Regions from separate parts of the Homo sapiens genome. Here region 2 is linked to region 1. The links are contacts of gene promoters, found by promoter capture Hi-C in human tissues and cell types (Jung and others, 2019). All regions are on one chromosome and are shown on one strand. Each heading gives the region's core, a stretch centred on a gene start or on the middle of the fragment in contact. The rest is flanking DNA. Distances are from core to core; before and after follow the strand shown. Region 1 holds the start of BPIFB3 (BPI fold containing family B member 3). Region 2 overlaps BPIFB4 (BPI fold containing family B member 4).

Evidence for each region. Contacts are between HindIII fragments. The study calls those that stand out against the background at their distance.
Region 2: a contact is called between a fragment that was not itself captured here and the fragment with the promoter of BPIFB3 in region 1, in 1 of the 25 tissues and cell types used here (neural progenitor cells).

Annotation. Positions count from the first base shown.
Region 1 is chr20:33,052,345-33,055,260 of GRCh38, reverse strand. It overlaps BPIFB3 (BPI fold containing family B member 3), which reads right to left and starts at 1,358. Exons shown (of 16, transcript NM_001376932.3): 1 at 1,296-1,358. RefSeq lists enhancers at 1,004-1,537, 1,538-2,072. The HindIII fragment of the contact is 12,456 bases long and covers 1-2,916 here.
Region 2 is chr20:33,103,544-33,106,243 of GRCh38, reverse strand. It overlaps BPIFB4 (BPI fold containing family B member 4), which reads right to left. Exons shown (of 18, transcript NM_182519.3): 16 at 1,371-1,434. Among named protein-coding and RNA genes, the nearest start is that of BPIFB4, 25 kb to the right of the region's middle. The HindIII fragment of the contact is 8,468 bases long and covers 1-2,700 here.

The sequences.
Region 1 (2,916 bases), core at 109-2,608:
ACACGCAGGTGGCACGGTGCAGCTGCCAATGCACTCAAGTCTCCAAGGCACTTTCCAAGCCTCTCCCTCATTGGGTTCCATTTCTCAGCTGGGAAAACTGAGACCGAAAGGGGTAGGGGACTAGACCAAGGCCACAGAACTAATCAGAGACAGTCAGAATTCAAGCCTGAGTCCATCTGACATAAAAATCTTCATCCTCAGAGGCCCAGTGAGCCTGGCCGGGTGTCTGGAGTGACAGCTGCAGACAGAGGGGCTTCCCCCTCCAGGACAGCAGGATGAGAGCTTTGTTTCCAGCAGCTGCTTCCCACTGGCTCATGAGGCTGTTTCAGAAGGTCTAGCTGACTGGGGACACCCAACACTTAGACTTAACATGTCTTATCTTTCTCCTTCCCCCACCTCCACCCCAAATCTTGTTGAAAAAGGGAATGGGGTGGCAGGTGGGGGCATGGCTAATCTGCTAAGTTCACAGAGTGGGATTTTTCTTTAAGCAGTTCCGTATTTGCCCACCCAATCACATATCCATCTATGCCCACCCATCACTCCTGCTTAAACCCTTCAGTGGCTCCCCGCTGCCCTGGGTTGAAACCCAGGCTTCTTGCCATTACCCACAAAATCCCTGCCTGCCTTTTTGACCTCCTTGAGCTTAAACATGCCAGGCCCCTTCCCACCCCAGGGCCTTTGCACATGCGGTTCCTTGTTAGGAAGGCTCCTCCCTGCTTCTTTGCATGGCTGACTCCTTATCATTGAGATTCCGGATAAACATTGCCTCCCTGGAGAGGCCTCCGTCCTTCACTTTGTCTAAAGAAATCCGTCTGTCACTAAACATCACGCAGAATATTTACTTTAAGGTGCTGATCTCCATTTGCAATTATGCATCTGTTTGTGTCCTTATTTCTCTTCCCTGTAAACTCCATGAAGGCAGGGACCATGTCTAAGGCCTCTGTGCGTGGTTGTGTGTCAGAAGGGGTCCCTGCTGAGGGGGCAGGGGATAGAAATTCAGCAGCATGTCACTGGCCAGGAGAAAAATGGGCACTCCTGGAACTCTCTCCATAGGATCATCCTATGGACAGGGATCCCCTGCCCACCCCTCCGGCTGTGAATATATACAAGTCTTTGCCTCTCTCTGGGCCCCAGATCTGTAACATGGTTTTTCTCTTCATCCACCCTCTTGGTACCCCCAGTCTCCTCCTAGGGTGAGTTCTTTCCGTGCCCATCATTCATATGGGAGGGCAGAAGGCAGTGGGGTCAACGGCTGGGCGTCAGGACAAGAGCAGGGCTGCCTCAGGCTGTCTTACCCTTGCTCCTGCAGCTCCACAAGGGGTAGGTGGGGGCTCCCGGCCTCCTGTCGGTTCCTCCACCCACGCGAGCTGAGGGGTGGCCCTTATATGCCCACGCGGCTCTGAGGACACAAAGGGGCCACGGCCGCCAGAATCCCGTCAATATGTCATGTCAGAAGCAAATTGCGGTTTTCCCCGAGGGCCTGGGCTAAGCCTTCCTCCTTGGAGGCGAGTAAGGGGACTGGGGTCGGTGCCCAGGAGTGGGAGTGAAGGCGTGGGGGCTGCACAGGCAGCCACCTCCCTCAGAGCCAGGGGTGAGGTGTGGGGCCCTGCCACCTACCCATTCAGCCACCTATTGGGCTCCCTCCAAGGCTCCCCAAGAGCCATTCCAATGGCACAGAATCTACCCTGCCTACCCCACCCCTTCCCCAGCGAAGGCCTACGGAGGGAAAGAAGGGACTTAAAGCTGCTGGGTCTTCTACCTTCCGCCACCCTCCCCCCGCACCAGGCCTCACATGGAGAGGGCTATGGGCCTGGAGACAGGGACTCTGGGCACACTTGGGGGAGGGGCATCAACTCCACCCCCACCTCCCAAGGCTCAGTATCCCCAGAGTTCCAGAGCTTTGTCCCCTTTCCGAGGCTGGTGCAGATGACAGCGACGAGAAATGCGTCCATTCATTCACTCCACTGCAGGCATTTGTGAGGCACCCACTGTCTGCTAGATGCTGGGGAAATCGCTGTAAATAAAAGAGACAATCTCCCCTGCCCTGAAGGAGCCGACTAGTGGAAATGCAATGCAATTTAAAACTTTCTAGTAGCCACATTTTTTGAAAGGCAAAAAGAAACAGGTGAAATTAATTATAATAGTCTAGTTTATTTACCCCCACCAAATCCAAAATATTCTCATTTAACATATAACCAACAGAAAATTATGAATGGGGTACTTTACTTTCTTTTTCTCATACTAAGTTTTCAAAATCTGCTTACAGCACACCAAGATTTGGACTTGTCGCACTTCAGGCAATCGCCTTGTATGGCTATTGGCTGTCATATTGGAAAGCACAGCTCTGAAAGGGACAAATAAGCACATAATACAGTAAGTTGGGGCTGGGCGCGGTGGCTCACGCCTGTAAACCCAGCACTTTGGGAGGCCGAGGCAGGCAGATCACAAGGTCAGGAGTTCAAGACCAACCTGACCAACATGGTGAAACTCCGTCTCTACTAAAAATACAAAAATTAGCTGGGTGTGGTGGCAGGAGCCTGTAGTCCCAGCTATTTGGGAGGCTGAGAGAGGAGAATGGCGTGAACCCAGGAGGCGGAGCTTGCAGTGAGCTGAGATCACACTCCAGCCTGGGTGACAGTGAGGGACTCTGCCTCAAAAAAAATAAAAAAAAAATTATATATATATATATATATATATATATATATATATATACACACACACACACACACAAATTAGCCAGGCTTGGTGGCGCATGCTTGTAATCCCAGCTACTTGGGAAGCTGAGGCAGGAAAATCACTTGAACCTGGGAGATGAAGGTTGCAACGAGCCAAAATTGCCTCACTGCACTCCAGCCTGGGCGACAGAGTGAGACTCCATCTCAAAAAAAATACAGTAAGTCGGAAGCTAACAACAAA
Region 2 (2,700 bases), core at 171-2,670, 51 kb before region 1:
TGTTTGTTTTCAGATTGTCAGAGCCTAAGTAAACCTGCTAATTACTGTTCTAGAAAGAGAGCAGGAAGAGAGAAAAAGAAGTGGGGTAGGAAAGAGTGGATGGGGGAAGTAAATTAAGTGAAATTTAACAGACTTCTCTATTCCAGCAGGACTTTTCAAAAAGCTAAGGACATTGTGAATCTACCCTGCAGGAGTATCTTCAGCACTTCCCAAACTTGCTCGGCCATGGAACGCTTTTTGCAGGGTATTTTGTGGGACTGCTTTACGGAGCTCACTTTGGGGACTATGGACCTTGTCCAAGCTCTCATTTTGAAAATGGTGAATTGCACTTCAGTATGATTAAAAGACTCGCCCCCAAGTTCACACCACTCTTAGTGATTAAGCCAGGCAAGACGCTCCGTCTCTTCCCTCCCAGGTCAGCCCAGCCCAGCCCCTGACCCCATCCTCTCACAGAGAAACCACCACTTTCCCCACCAGTGAGACTCGGCTTCCTCTGACCACAGGGCCCAGAACAAGGGTTTGTTTGACATCAAGATGGCTCCAACAGAACCCCCGCTGGTGTAGCTGATGACATTGGCTGGGATGTGCCAGCCCTCCTTGTCTTCTCATCCAGGAAGCAGGAGTGGGAGAGAGTCTGGGGCCCAGTGACCCCAGGGCTTGGGCAGTTTCCCAGTCCCAGTATGTGAGTAGCCAATGACCCCCATAGTTCAACAAGCAGCCTTCCCAGTAACATTCCTGAGACGCCCCAGAGAGCAAAGCAAGCTCAGTCTACTCTGTTTATAAAGTTGGGCAAGAAAACCTCCTAACTTGATGTGGTTCCCTAGGGGGGCAGATTCTGGGCTAGGAAGGAGGCTGGGGATGTCGATAAGAGCAACTTTAGCTGTATCTGCGCCAATGGAACTTTTCACAATAAGAATGTATTCCTGTAGTTCCTGTATCATTAAAAATAAATACATGTTTAAATATGAGTCAGGAAAGATCTCAATCATATGGGAAAACAATGGAGAAAAAGAGTTTAGAAGGAAATATGCTCAGATGTTGAGATTCATTGCCTCTGCGAGGTGAGTTTTTTTTAAATTGTTTTATATTTTCTAAAACTTGCACACACACAATGTTAATACATAATCGGAATTTTCATAGATAATCAGAAAAATAAAACAATCAGCCAAACAAGAAAGAAGCAAATAAGGAAGGTGCTGGAACTTTGGGGGCCACGTTTGGATTTGGAGGCTTTCATCGACACGCTTCAAAGGAAGTGCTCAGAAATACTATTGAGGTAGGATAGATGCACATCCAGCATGCCCAACAAGCCAGTATCCCCCAGTACCCAAGCCACAAGCTCCCAGAGAGGCACAGGCACCCGCTCTCACCGTTCATTGCGGGCATGAATGCCAGGTCAAAAATCTTCTCCACCAGCACCTCCATGAGGCCAATCTGCAGAGGAAGAAGGAGGACAGAGCCTGGGCAGGGGGTTTGCTCAGCTCCAGAGGGCCCCTTGGGTCTGCTCCCCTGGCTCAAGGTGGAGACACAGACCTGCTCTGGGAGAGTCTAGGTTCTGGCAGTCAGAACCCCTGAGACCCCAGAATTTCTCACCGGCAGCCTTAAGGTGCCCCCCATCAACTTGCACATTGTGCAGATGGGCAGACTGAGGCCCAGCATGGGTGGTGGCCCAAGGCCCCTATGAAGCAGGGATTGAGGGAGGCCTAGTTCCTCCCCTGGGAGGCACAGAGCACAGGTTTCAGGGTGGCCTGGCCCCGATGGCACTGTCATGGCATCACAGAAGTCCCAATGGCCCTGGAGCCAACACCCCAGGTTCCCATCCCAGCTCAGTCTCCGTGGGCCTCTGGGCAGGCTCCTTCACCTCTCTAACCCTCAGCTTCCTCAGCTGTAAAATGGGTCAGTGAGCTGAGTTTGCAAGGATGCGGTGAGGATGGTGGGTAGATCACGTAAAACTCCTGGCCTTGAGCCTTTTCATATGTTACCTCCCTTAACTTCTCTAAGCCTTGGTTTCCACATCTGAAAACAGGAGTGAGTAACCCTTGCCTCATAGGGTGGTTATAAAAATCAGACATAAGCCCCTATATGTAACATGCCTGATGTTCCAGTCTGCAGAGGGTGAGGGCATGGACTCACTTTCCGGCAGTGCCTCTTCCTAGCTCTGTTGCCTTGGGCAAGTCACTTGAGCTTACCTTCCTTATTTGGAAGAATGGGTGTAATAATAATACCCAAATCATAACACGGTGGTAAGGATTAAATGAGAAAACCTCATTAAAAGAGAAAAAAAAGCATAATTCAGTGCCTAGGGCCCATCTCGATAGCTTCATTAATTCATTAATTTTACACTGTCAGCCCCTTTCTTCACTTGGAGTCCAGAGATTTCAGTTCTAATCCCAACTCTGCCCCAACCAGCTGGGAAGCCTTGGGCAGTTTATCCTTATAAAATGAAGCTGGCAAGATCGGCTTCACAGGCTGTAGCTTTTTGGGTTAGAAAAGCTATAAAATTAGCAACACAATGAATGGGTTTGACTTTTTCTGCACATGTGGAGATCTCATCCAAGCTTGTCCCAGAAAGCTAGCAGATGCTTAGTTGTCAATTTATAAAAAGCGGAGGTGGGGGGGTGGGGAGGAAGGAGTGTTTCTGAAGCCTTAGGTGGGGGTGGGGCACCCAAGAGTGAACAAAGAGATAAAACAGGACCCAAC